Regions from separate parts of the Homo sapiens genome. Here all the other regions are linked to region 3. The links are contacts of gene promoters, found by promoter capture Hi-C in human tissues and cell types (Jung and others, 2019). All regions are on one chromosome and are shown on one strand. The core of a region is centred on a gene start or on the middle of the fragment in contact, and the rest is flanking DNA. Distances in the headings are between cores, read along the strand shown. Region 1 holds the start of GSTM1 (glutathione S-transferase mu 1). Region 2 has its middle 7.9 kb from the start of GSTM5. Region 3 holds the start of AHCYL1 (adenosylhomocysteinase like 1). Region 4 has its middle 12 kb from the start of GSTM5.

Region 1 (2,801 bases), core at 234-2,733, 300 kb before region 3:
AGGCCTCCATAACAACTGTTTCAGTACTGACTGAGTGGTGAAGTTAAATATTAAAAGCTGAAAAAAGCCAGTACCTTTATACAGAGGCTGGATGTAACAAAAGCCCACCAAGAGTTTTGCTTAGGCCTTTCCTGGGCCTTAAAGCATGACAAAACAATGAAGGAATTCTTAACAGGACCTATTTAGAATTAAACAAGTTTTATTGTGAGTCTGAAGAAACTCCCCAGGCCTCCACAAACAAGTTTATTGGGCGTCTGAAGGAACTCCCCAAACCTCCGTGATTTAGCAGGAGACAAGATAAGGGTAATCATCCCCCGCACCTGGACCCATTTAGATTAAATAAATAGACTGAGGCTCCAGAATAAGGTCCTCAGGACCCAGACCTCAGTTACAGATTAAAGAAGTTAATCACTTATGTCTTTAGATGAATGCACACTTACTTGTAGACATATACCTTAGAAGGTATATATGCTCTGGAAAACTTTGTAATATTGAGTTGGTCTGGTGGTAATTTCTAGGCCTTCTCCCTGTTACCGGTTGCAGAAATAAAACCTCTCTTCCTCCCCATTTGATCTGCATCTCGTTATTGGGCCTAGAGAAATAGCAGCCGGACCCTCAGTTTGGTCCGGGAAGTTCTTCCATCCTCCCTCGCCTGCTCTCTGTGGCCACTGCACTCACTGTTGCTGTTGCTGTTCCGGTCTCTGTGAGGTTCACCTAGTGGACTGGCTGGACATTTCTAGGGGGCACCTCAGATACCTCACCAACTTGCTGGATCTGATCCTTGGATTTCGATTCATAAATTGTGCCAAAATACGAAGTGGCTAATTTACACAGTACTTAGCCAGATGACCGAAGGACTCAGTACCCGAGGGCCCCTAACAGAAAACACAGACCACATTTCCTTTACTCTGGCCCTTTTCCTGGGGGTCCTTCCTATACCACTGACACTGTTCCTGTGTAGGCGGGGCTAGAGGGGAGACTAAGCCCTGGGAGTAGCTTTCGGATCAGAGGAAGTCCTGCTCTTACAGTGACAGGGGCTGAATTAAATTCCCAGGTTGGGGCCACCACTTTTTAGTCTGACCCCTGCAGCCGGAGTCTCCCAGAGCCCTTGGGAACTCGGCAGCGGAGAGAAGGCTGAGGGACACCGCGGGCAGGGAGGAGAAGGGAGAAGAGCTTTGCTCCGTTAGGATCTGGCTGGTGTCTCAAGCGCACAGCCAAGTCGCTGTGGACCTAGCAAGGGCTGGATGGACTCGTGGAGCCTCAGGGCTGGGTAGGGAAGCTGGCGAGGCCGAGCCCCGCCTTGGGCTTCTGGGCGCCCTGACTTCGCTCCCGGAACCCTCGGGCCTGGGAGGCGGGAGGAAGTCTTACTGAGTGCAGCCCCAGGCGCCCTCTCCCGGGCCTCCAGAATGGCGCCTTTCGGGTTGTGGCGGGCCGAGGGGCGGGGTCGCAGCAAGGCCCCGCCTGTCCCCTCTCCGGAGCTCTTATACTCTGAGCCCTGCTCGGTTTAGGCCTGTCTGCGGAATCCGCACCAACCAGCACCATGCCCATGATACTGGGGTACTGGGACATCCGCGGGGTGAGCGAGGGTCCGCTGGACGGTGGGACGAGGGCGCAGGGGAGGGAAGTGCGAAGCAGCTGCGGGACGGACTCTAGGGACCGTTCCTCTTCAGGGCTGCCCGCCTCAGAAGGGCCTGTGCATGCCGCTGTGTGTGTGTTGGGGGTGTGGGCGGGTAGAGGAGGCAACGGGTACGTGCAGTGTAAACTGGGGGCTTCCCTGGTGCAGACAAAGTCAGGGACCCTCCATCTCTGACGCGACCTGCGGGCCATCTCTCCCAGCTGGCCCACGCCATCCGCCTGCTCCTGGAATACACAGACTCAAGCTATGAGGAAAAGAAGTACACGATGGGGGACGGTAATGGCACCCTCGTGTTCGGGCTCTGCCCACTCACGCTAAGTTGGCACCAAGCAACCCATGGTGGCCACCTGTGGCTGCCTCTGCAGGCCTCCCCTGCTGGAGCTGCAGGCTGTCTCTTCCCTGAGCCCCGGTGAGGGAGCCCTCTGGCCTTGCAAGGCAGAATGCTGGGGTGGGATGCTGGGCCCCCTGTCTAATTGGGACGGGTGTCCCTCAGGGCTTGCCTAAACCCTGGAAGCCTTAGCTGTGTGGGGTCCAGAGCCCTCAGCGGGATTCTTTGTCCCTGAACCCTGGGATGTGGGACTGAGTGGTCAGATTCTAGATCCACCTGTCTCAGGGATCTTGCCACTGGCTCCGTGGGAGGGTCCCCGGGAAGGAGGGCTGGGCTCTGGGGAGGTTTGTTTTCACTTCTTCTTCCCCACCACAGCTCCTGATTATGACAGAAGCCAGTGGCTGAATGAAAAATTCAAGCTGGGCCTGGACTTTCCCAATGTAGGTGCAGGGGAAGGGGCGGTTTTGGGGGAAAGTGCAACGTGTCTCTGACTGCATCTCCTCTCCCCAGCTTAGAGGTGTTAAGATCAGGAGTCTTCTGCCCAATTCCTCTCACTCCTGGCTGTCTAAACAGTCCTTCCATGATGTTCTGTGTCCACCTGCATTCGTTCATGTGACAGTATTCTTATTTCAGTCCTGCCATGAGCAGGCACAGTGAGTGCCCGGTCTCCTCTCTGCTCTTGCTTATGGGAAGGGGATGCTGGGGAGCCTGGTGGCCCAACTGAGCTTCGCCGGTTTCCCATCCATCCAGCTGCCCTACTTGATTGATGGGGCTCACAAGATCACCCAGAGCAACGCCATCTTGTGCTACATTGCCCGCAAGCACAACCTGTGTGAG
Region 2 (3,038 bases), core at 536-3,035, 280 kb before region 3:
ATAATTGTGTTAACTGTACAAATTGATTGTAAAACATGTGTGTTTGAACAATATGAAATCAGTGCACCTTGAAAAAGAACAGAATAACAGCGATATTTAGGGAACAAGAGAAGACAACCATAAGGTCTGACTGTCCGCAGGGTCAGGCAAAATAGAGCCATATTTTTCTTCTTGCAGAGAGCCTATAAATGGACATGCAAGTAGGGAAGATATTGCTAAATTCTTTTCCTAGCAAGGAATATTAATATTAATACTCTGGGAAAGGAAAGCATTCCTGGGGGGAGGTCTATAAATGGTCGCTTTGGGAATGAATGTCTGTCCTATGCAGTTGAGATAAGGACTGAAATACACCCTGGTCTCCTGCAGTACCCTCAGGCTTACTAGGGTGGGGAAAAACCTGGCCCTGGCAAATTTGTGGTCAGACTGGTTCTCTGCTCTTGAACCCTGTGTTCTGTTGTTTAAGATGTTTATCAAGACAATACATGCACCGCTGAACATAGACCCTTATCAGGAGTTCTATTTTGCCCTTGTCCTGTTTCCTCAGAAGCATGTGATCTTTGTTCTGCTTTTTGCCCTTTAAAGCATGTGATCTTCGTACCTACCCCCTGTTCGTACACCCCCTCCCCTTTTGCAATCCTTAATAAAAACTTGCTGGTTTTGAGGCTCGGGCGGGCATTACGGTCCCACTGATATGTGATGTCACCTCCAGCAGCCCAGCTGTAAAATTCCTCTCTTTGTACTCTTTCTCTTTATTTCTCAGCCAGCCGACACTTATGGAAAGTAGAAAGAACCTACATTGAAATACTGGGGGCAGGTTCCCCCAATATCTGGTGCACCAACATGGTTTTCTTTTTCCTAAGTGCATGTGGGAACCTGATTCCCTTTGGTAGGTGTGGAGAAACGATCATCAGTCCAGTCCTCAGAAACGCTTGTTCGGCTCCCTGATGATTGGTGAATTTTCTATGTATTGTCTCGGGTAACTATGGGTCACATGGAGTCTAAATATTATGCTTATCTCTGCTATATTAAACTCCTGTTAAAACAGGGTGGAGTTTGGGTGCCCATGGAAAATATGGTCACCCTATTCAGGGTGTTGGAAGAACACTGTCCTTGGTTTCCTGAAAAGGGAAAATTAGATGTGGAACTATGGGATCGCGTTGGTGCAAAATTCCAGGAACTGATCCCATCAGGAAATTATGTTCCCTTCACTGTTTGGGGTGATTGGGCCTTGGTATGTGCCATCCTAACGACATACCAATCCCGTGACCCCCTGCAGTTACCACAGTTTTCTGAATCTGGCGACCTTCTACCTCTTCCACAGCTTTCCTCTCCCACTCGGGCTTCATTATCTGCTCAGCCTCTCCCTTCGCCTACTCCTCCCCCACCTAACGATATTGAGGATTCAATATCTAACTCCGGTGACTTTGGCTTAATGTCACCCCCGATGGTCTTATTTCTTTTCATGAAGACCTGATACTTGTAGCTCCCATGGCCCTGACTCGGACAGCTCTGCACCATATCTATGCTAACTCTTCCCTTTTCAAATCTTTGCAGGCTTTGCCTCCAGAGCCATCTAATGGCTCCAGACCAAACTACAATTTACCTGTAATTCTGCAGGCCCTCCCCCACCGCAGCCCCTCACCCTCCTGTCATTTCGGTCCCTCAACCAGTCACTTTGCCATTCACTCAACCTGCTTCTCTGTACCCTTCTTCACACATGGACGCCCCTGCCACTCTGGTTGCACAGGATTTCCCAATAATCACCAGTATGCTTCTGTCTCTTCTGCTCCCCCAATGCCCCTTTCTCACACTCTCATACTGGTCTGACCTCCTGAACCTCAGTTTCCCTTATCTACACATACTTTTACTGTCACTTCTATGCCAACTCCATCTCATGTGCCTGCTCTTGAAACTTCCATGCAATGCTTATTACGCCAGAACAAAGAAACAAGTGGATTAGAGGTGTGGGCTTATCCGGTCACGCTGGAACCTCCCAATGCTCAAGGGGTACAAATGCGTTGATATGCACTGCTCAATCTTACCTTTTCAAAAGAATTCAAGGATGCTTGTGCTCAGTATGGTCCTGCTTCTCCATATGTTAAAATGGCATTACAGACTCTTTGTACTGAGGTCATTTTGCTTCCTTCAGAATGGGACCTTTTGGCGAAAGCTGTTCTAACTCCATCTCAGCATTTACAATTCTGTACCTGGTGGTCAGAGGAGGCCCGTCTGCAGGCTCAGCTAAATTGGGTTGATGGCATTCTAATTACTCAGGCTCAGCTCACAGGCTCTGATAATCACTCTGACACTACCGCCCAATTAGACTTTGACGCTCTCACCACGGAACAAGTAACAAAGTTGTGTATGAGAGTTTGGGATAAACTAGGTGCCCCAGGCCAAGCTCCTGTTTCTTTTACTACTGTTAAACAGGGTCGCAGTGAATTACATCCTGATTTTTTGGCTAAATTACAAGATGCTGTTCAAAATCTGTCTCTGATGATTACGCTCAAGGTATTCTCCTTCATATGTTAGCTTTTGAGAATGCGAACCATGAGTGTAAAGTGGTCATGCGTTCTGTCTAATGACAAAATTTACCTGATCACGAGGTGTGCCTGCATATATTAAAGCTTGTGAAAGCATTGGATCAGAGACCCACAAAGCTATTCTGTGGGCACGGGCCATGAAGGATGGCAATCAAACTGGCTTGACTGAATTCTTTTCTTGGAGCCTGCTATAATTGTGGTCAACTTCATCATACCCAAAAAAATTGCACTGTTAAAAGCGGCCAAGCCAGCTCAACAAACATGGCCAAATGCTCCTGCTACTGTTTGCCCTCATTGTCGTAAAGGTAAACACTGGGCAAGTACTTGCCACTCTAAGTCTGATATAGATGGCAATCCCTTGCCACAGAACCAGGGAAATGGGAAGCAGGGCCAGTCCCAGGCCCCAGTATCAAATGGGACACCTCAGACTCAGACCAATATTGTGTTTCTGCTTCAAGCGGTCCCAATACAGCCCCCAGCACAAGCAAATTTACC
Region 3 (3,155 bases), core at 610-3,109:
CACAGGATTCCCTGACTAAGACTTTTAGGGCCCTAGAGGTGAATATTTCACACTCTCCCCAGCCCTGAACACAAATCAGTGGGGAAAATGCCATTTCAAACCAAAACTTCCTTCTTGAAAGGGTATGCCCTGTTAAAAACCTGGGAGGTTTCTGGATGTTAAAAGGTGGTCCTGGCCAGGCGCGGTGGCTCACGCCTGTAATCCCAGCACTTTGGGAGGCCGAGGCAGGTGGATCACGAGGTCAGGATCCGAGACCAGCCTGGCCAAGATGGTGAAACCCCGTCTCTACTAAAAATACAAAAATTAGCCGGGCACGGTGGCGCACGCCTATAGTCCCAGCTACTCACTCAGGAGGCTGAGGCAGGAGAATCACTTGAACCCGGCAGGCGGAGGTTGCAGTGAGCTGAGAGCACTCCAGCTTGGGCAACAGAGCGAGACGTCATCTCAAAAAAAAAAAAAAGGTGGTCCTGGGGAGGAATTTAGGGAAAGGGCACTGGGAAGACTGGAATTGCTCAGCACAGCAGAGGAGAATCTGGCTTCCCAGAGTCTATCAAGGAAGGAAGGATGAGGTGCAGAGATGGGAAGGGAGGAACAGGAGGAAGCTAGATTAGATGGCAATGGGCTAGGGAGCGTGGTGGGATCTTGTGGCCATTGAGAAATCCCCGGGTGGTAAGACAGCCAAAATAACTTTTCAGAACATTTCAGAAATGTGTTCTTAAATTGTTTGCTGTGTGATGTAATCTCTCCCCTGTGACCCACAAACCTTTATTAAAAGTTTTACTACATGTTACAGCCTTATTTTGTAGTTGTTTAGCATGGGGTGGGGGTTGAAAGGAGAAGCGGCTGAATTGACCCCAGGAGCTACAGAAACAGTCACAAGACCAGAATAGTGAATAAAATGCCAGACAAGGCAAAAAAACTAGAGCCAGAGGTGACCATGAAAATCCAAGTCCTCCCAGTAATGGACTTTCCACAGGACATGGTAATTGGAGCCAATGTCATTTGAATCTCAAAGGACAAGCTACCTCAGCTGACATTAGGATACAAGCAGGTTTTGCCTCTCCAGCTGAACTAAGCCTTGCAAAACATAAAATGCGTCACATGTCCTTTTGCCAGCAGGGCCTCAGCACAGGCACTGCACATAGTAGGCCCAGTAAAAGGGTGTGAGCAGTCCATGAATGTCCTGGATGCCCACTGAGAGCTGGAAGGGTCTAATGCTTTGGTGGAGCAAGGACCGGAAGGCCATTCTGGCTGGGGACTTCTCCATCAGCTCTCCTGGTCTCCACCCTCATACCCATCAGCCCTATCCCAATGAGGGTTTTGTAAACAGGCAAGGCCCAGTCGGAGATGGTGGTGGAGGAAGTCACAAAGCGTTGTGCAGAAACCAGACTACTCTGAGTCAGTTCTGCCCCCTATGAAGTCAAAAAGACAGGCACGGCCCCTTGGGAAGGAGCTTTAATCCAAAGGGCCTGGGGCTGGGCCAGTGAGTGAGTGGGCTGTCTCGAGCCCCGGACATTTCCTAGGAATCGCTGTAGGATGTGTCGTGTGGGGCTCTGGTCTTTGCTCCCAAACACCCCTTTCATGCGCCTCTGAGGCCTTGCCAGGAACCCCGCAGCCCAAAGACCCTCCGTTCCGCAGCATCGTTGCATGAACCTCGCGCTGCTCCCAGGGCTGATGGTGCCACCTGGTGGCACAAAGGGTCCTGCTCACCCTGGGAACTTCGCTCTCGAGCGGGAGAGGAACGGCTTCTGTGGCCCAGCCCAGCGTGGTGACGTCACGACAGAGTGCCCTTTCTCCCCGCCTCTTCCCCCTCCCGGGAGCTGCCAGTACTTGACGTGGCGTCACCGCCCTCTACCCTCGCTTTGCGTGCGTGTTTGCGTACAGCGGAGGTGGCGGCGCGGGCAGGTCGGAGCTCGGAGCTGCTGTTCTGGTTCTCTTGTGGCCGCCGTCGCTGTCCGGCTGCCTTGGGCTGCCGAACAGACAAGGCGTGGGCCACAGCACCTCAGAAGCCGACGCAGCTCGACGCAGGGGCCGGCAGGAGGGTGGGCGATCGCGTGTCGGAGGGCGCCGCGCGGGCAGGCGGGCGGGCGCCAGAGGGGGAAAGAGGCGGGGGCGGCGGGTCAGCCGCTGGCCGGGCCGGCCGGGGAATGTCGATGCCTGACGCGATGCCGCTGCCCGGGGTCGGGGAGGAGCTGAAGCAGGCCAAGGAGATCGAGGACGCCGAGAAGTACTCCTTCATGGCCACCGTCACCAAGGCGCCCAAGAAGGTGCGGGGGCTCTGGGTGGCGGCGGGGGCTCGGGCTCCGGCCTCGCGGAAGGGACGCGAGCAAGCCCGGGCTCTGGCTAGTTTGGGACTTCTGGGGGTGACTGGGGACGGCGGAGGTGATGTAGGGGGTGGCGGCTGTGCGGCCCCAGGCCTCTCCCGGGCTGAAAGGCCGCCTCTGACCTCGCTTTCCTTTGTCCCTCGGCCCAAGTCCTCCGGGATCGTTTTGAAACCCGACAGGGCCAGGCCTTAAATTTGCGACTGACTTTTCCTGGATGAAGGGCCTCGAAGACGAGAGTGGGAGGGGGTGAACCAACTCAGCTGACCCTTGTGACCAGTCCGGGGGCATGGGGTGTACAGAAAATCTCCCTTCAGGTGAGTGGGTAAATCTGGCAGAACTTCCATCAAATCTTTGGGAGCAGTGGCCGCTTTATCCAACAACTGCGTGATAGCTGGGAGGCAAGAGAAAAGAATGCGTGAAGCTAGCTCTGATATACAGGTGAAAGCGATGAGGGTAACATGAAACTGAAAATCTATGATTTTCACTTTCTACAGCATTCCAATTACTTCGAAATATGTAAGAAATTGACATTTGGAGGTTGGTGACAGCAGACACTGTCATGGATACAGGTGGATCCTAGAGTCATGTGAATAGATCACTTAGGCATCCCTGGAGAAAGGAGCTTGGGTGGGTTGGAGTAGTGGGTGGTAAGGGAAGATTGCTCACTCTTGACTGTACTTTTGAGGCAGAACAAGTTTGATCTATTGTGCTGTAGGTTGACTCAAAGGACACCCTTCGAATTCTCTCATAAATGGCAACCTTTGGAGATTTTAGTCTGACTAGCTCTCCGAGTGGTGGAATTGGGATCCTTATTGCTTTCTCATCATTTAC
Region 4 (2,772 bases), core at 254-2,753, 260 kb before region 3:
CCACTTCCAAGTTTGGAATCTGTGGGTAATGTTCATATTGATATTTTGAAAACGAGAGACTAAAGTGTAAAGTTAATAACCCCCAATTTGGGCAGGGTGTGGTGGTACAGGCCTGCAGTCCTAACTATCCTAGAGGTTAAGGTGGGAGGATCGCTTGAGGACAGAAGTTTGCAGTGAGCTATGATTGCACCTGTGTATAATCAGTGCACTCTAGCCTGGGCAACATAGTGAGACCTCATCTCTGAAAAAAAAAAATAATAATAAAGGACGAAAGAAAGAGTAAAAACAAACCCCAATTCACCCTCTATAAAATAACAAATGAAATGGGAAGTGGAAAAAAGGGAAAAATTAGGTAAGCCTATATGATACAGTAGAAAACAGGCTGCACTCAGATTTGCAAATAAGCTGTTTTGCATTTATTTACAATGCTTATAGAATGCACTTCTTTGGTGAAGGGACTCTGAAGAGATATTGCGTAATAAGACTTATATACTAAGCATTGATATGAACAACCCAAAGTCACTCCTTGGATTGGCTCTTGTCTCCATCCCTCTGTGACCCCACTCAGGTTTACTGTCATCCCACTTTGTTACCCTACATTTTTTAGGCTCATGTGGCTTGTGTGGAATGGTGAGGGAAACTCTTACTGATGACAGAGACACAGAGACAGACTGGCCACTACCACATGGTAACCTGAGACTTGGAAGCAGTGAGCGAGAGTGGTCCATTCTGATGGGTTCCGGACCAACTCTCTCTGCAAATGTTAATTGTCATACTCCTTGTAAACAGATCTGGTTTTCCACAGAGGACTCCGCCTTTTGGAATAGCCCCAACAAATCCTCTCAAAGCATATTCTGTCCAAAAGGCCCAACAGACACCCTACATTCCCTGCATACCTTTAGTTCTCTTCCAGTTGAAACATAATTTTTTTTTTTTTTTTTAGACAAGGTCTTGCTCTGTCGCCCAAGCTGGAGTGCAGTAGTGCAATCATGGCTCACTGCAGCCTTGACTTCCTTGGGCTCAGGTGATCCTTCCACGTCAGCCTCCTGGGTTGCTGGGACTACAGGCACATGCCACCATGCCTGGCTAATTTTTTTTCCTGTATTTTGTAGAGATGGGGTTTTGCCATGTTGCCCAGGCTGGTCTTGAACTCCTGGGCTCAAGTGATTTGCCTGCCTCTGCCTCCCTCCACCTCCCAAAATGCTGGGATTACATGCATAAGCCACTGCGTGCGGCCTGAAACATAATTTTGGAAAGAAGCAGATAGGGTCTTGGTCACAGTTCAAAAAGAGTATCTGTTAATATAATTGAAAGTGTTGTACTACAGAAGATAAAGTACAGGCCTATTTAATAATTCTAATTTTCCTTCAAACTTCCAATACAACATGAACATTATTAGCTGGTGTGTTCTATTCCTATTATTTTGCATCATGGAAAACATCTCCTGCGAACACTAGGTTGGCCCGCTGTCTCCAAGTCAGGCCACACAGAAGCACCTATTCATTTAAAATTCAAATATACCCACACCCATTTAATCTTTTCTTCCAGATTTAAGTCTCACGTGTCAGTTATCTGTAATTATTTCCATTGTAAACCCCATAAGAACATTAAGAGCCAATCCCTGTTAGTTTTCAGAAATGTTTCATTTCAATTTGGCCTAAGCAAGGAAGAAATAAGCCAGACCATGAACTTGTAAACCCAGAAAATCTGGGAGAGGTCCAAGTTAAATCAGAAAGTTTATTTTGCCAAGGTGGAGGATGTGGCCATGACACGGTCTCAGAAAGTCCTTGACAACATGTCCCCAAGATGGTCGGGGCACAGCTTGGTTTGTAAATATATATAAAAGCTATGGCTTATCAATATATGTAAAAAGCACATTGGTTCCATCCAGAAAGGCTGGACAACTCGAAGCAGGTGGGTGCTTCAAGTTGTCCCACCTTTCCAGACCAAACCAATGTAGTTCTTTATACATATTAATTGATGTTTCATGTCTGTCTAAAATGTATAAAATCAAGCTGTGCCCTGAACACCTGCGGCACATGTTGTCAGGACATCCTGAGGCTGTGCCACCGGTATTCATCCTCAACCTTGGCAAAACAAACTTTCTAAATTAACTGAGACCTGGCTGGGCACGGTGGCTCACGCCTGTAATCCCAGCACTTTGAAAGGCTGAGGCAGGCGGATCACCCGAGATGAGGAGTCCAAGACTAGCCTGGCCAACATGGCGAAACCTCGTCTCTACTAAAAATACAAAACTTAGCTGGGCATGGTGGCAGATGCCTGTAATCCCAGCTACTTGCTTGGTAGGCCGAGGCAGGAGAATCGCTTGAACCTGGGAGGTGGAGATTACAGTGAGCGGAGATTGTGCCATTGCACTCCAGTCTGGGCGACAGAGCAAAACTCCCTCTAAAAATGAAAGAAAGGAAGGGAAGGGAAGGGAAGGGAAGGGAGGGGAAGGGAAGGGAAGGGAAGGGAAGGGGAAAGAAAGGAAGAAAGAAAGAAAGAAAGACAGACCTGTCTCGGATTTTCTGGAACTTGTCTCACATTTTCTGGGTTCACAGGAGGAATCTCAGATAAGACTGTTTTAAAGCTGAGCTCAGCCATGGATTTGTGCCATTAAATACCTATGAGTTGGGTGATCCTCTCCCCTTGAGGTTCCAAAGTAAACTTGGGGCTCCTGGGCCTGTCAGAAAGTGACATTCTTTACCTACCACAGGTGGACAAAACTATGAGTCCAGTTTCCCAAGTGGCTTTATTGGCTCCATAAATCAA

Evidence for each region. Contacts are between HindIII fragments. The study calls those that stand out against the background at their distance.
Region 1: the fragment with the promoter of GSTM1 here is called in contact with the fragment with the promoter of AHCYL1 in region 3 in 1 of the 25 tissues and cell types used here (mesenchymal stem cells).
Region 2: a contact is called between a fragment that was not itself captured here and the fragment with the promoter of AHCYL1 in region 3, in 1 of the 25 tissues and cell types used here (heart right ventricle).
Region 4: a contact is called between a fragment that was not itself captured here and the fragment with the promoter of AHCYL1 in region 3, in 1 of the 25 tissues and cell types used here (lymphoblastoid cells).

What each region holds. Positions count from the first base shown.
Region 1 is chr1:109,686,334-109,689,134 of GRCh38, forward strand. It overlaps GSTM1 (glutathione S-transferase mu 1), which reads left to right and starts at 1,484. Exons shown (of 8, transcript NM_000561.4): 1 at 1,484-1,576; 2 at 1,837-1,912; 3 at 2,340-2,404; 4 at 2,715-2,796. The coding sequence starts at 1,541. RefSeq lists an enhancer at 1,534-1,583. The HindIII fragment of the contact is 14,943 bases long and covers 1-2,801 here.
Region 2 is chr1:109,702,820-109,705,857 of GRCh38, forward strand. No RefSeq gene overlaps it. Among named protein-coding and RNA genes, the nearest start is that of GSTM5, 7.9 kb to the right of the region's middle. The HindIII fragment of the contact is 8,634 bases long and covers 1-3,038 here.
Region 3 is chr1:109,982,906-109,986,060 of GRCh38, forward strand. AHCYL1 (adenosylhomocysteinase like 1) reads left to right here and starts at 1,860. Exons shown (of 17, transcript NM_006621.7): 1 at 1,860-2,267. The coding sequence starts at 2,148. RefSeq lists silencers at 2,086-2,155, 2,336-2,405. The HindIII fragment of the contact is 16,487 bases long and covers 1-3,155 here.
Region 4 is chr1:109,722,642-109,725,413 of GRCh38, forward strand. No RefSeq gene overlaps it. Among named protein-coding and RNA genes, the nearest start is that of GSTM5, 12 kb to the left of the region's middle. The HindIII fragment of the contact is 5,225 bases long and covers 1-2,772 here.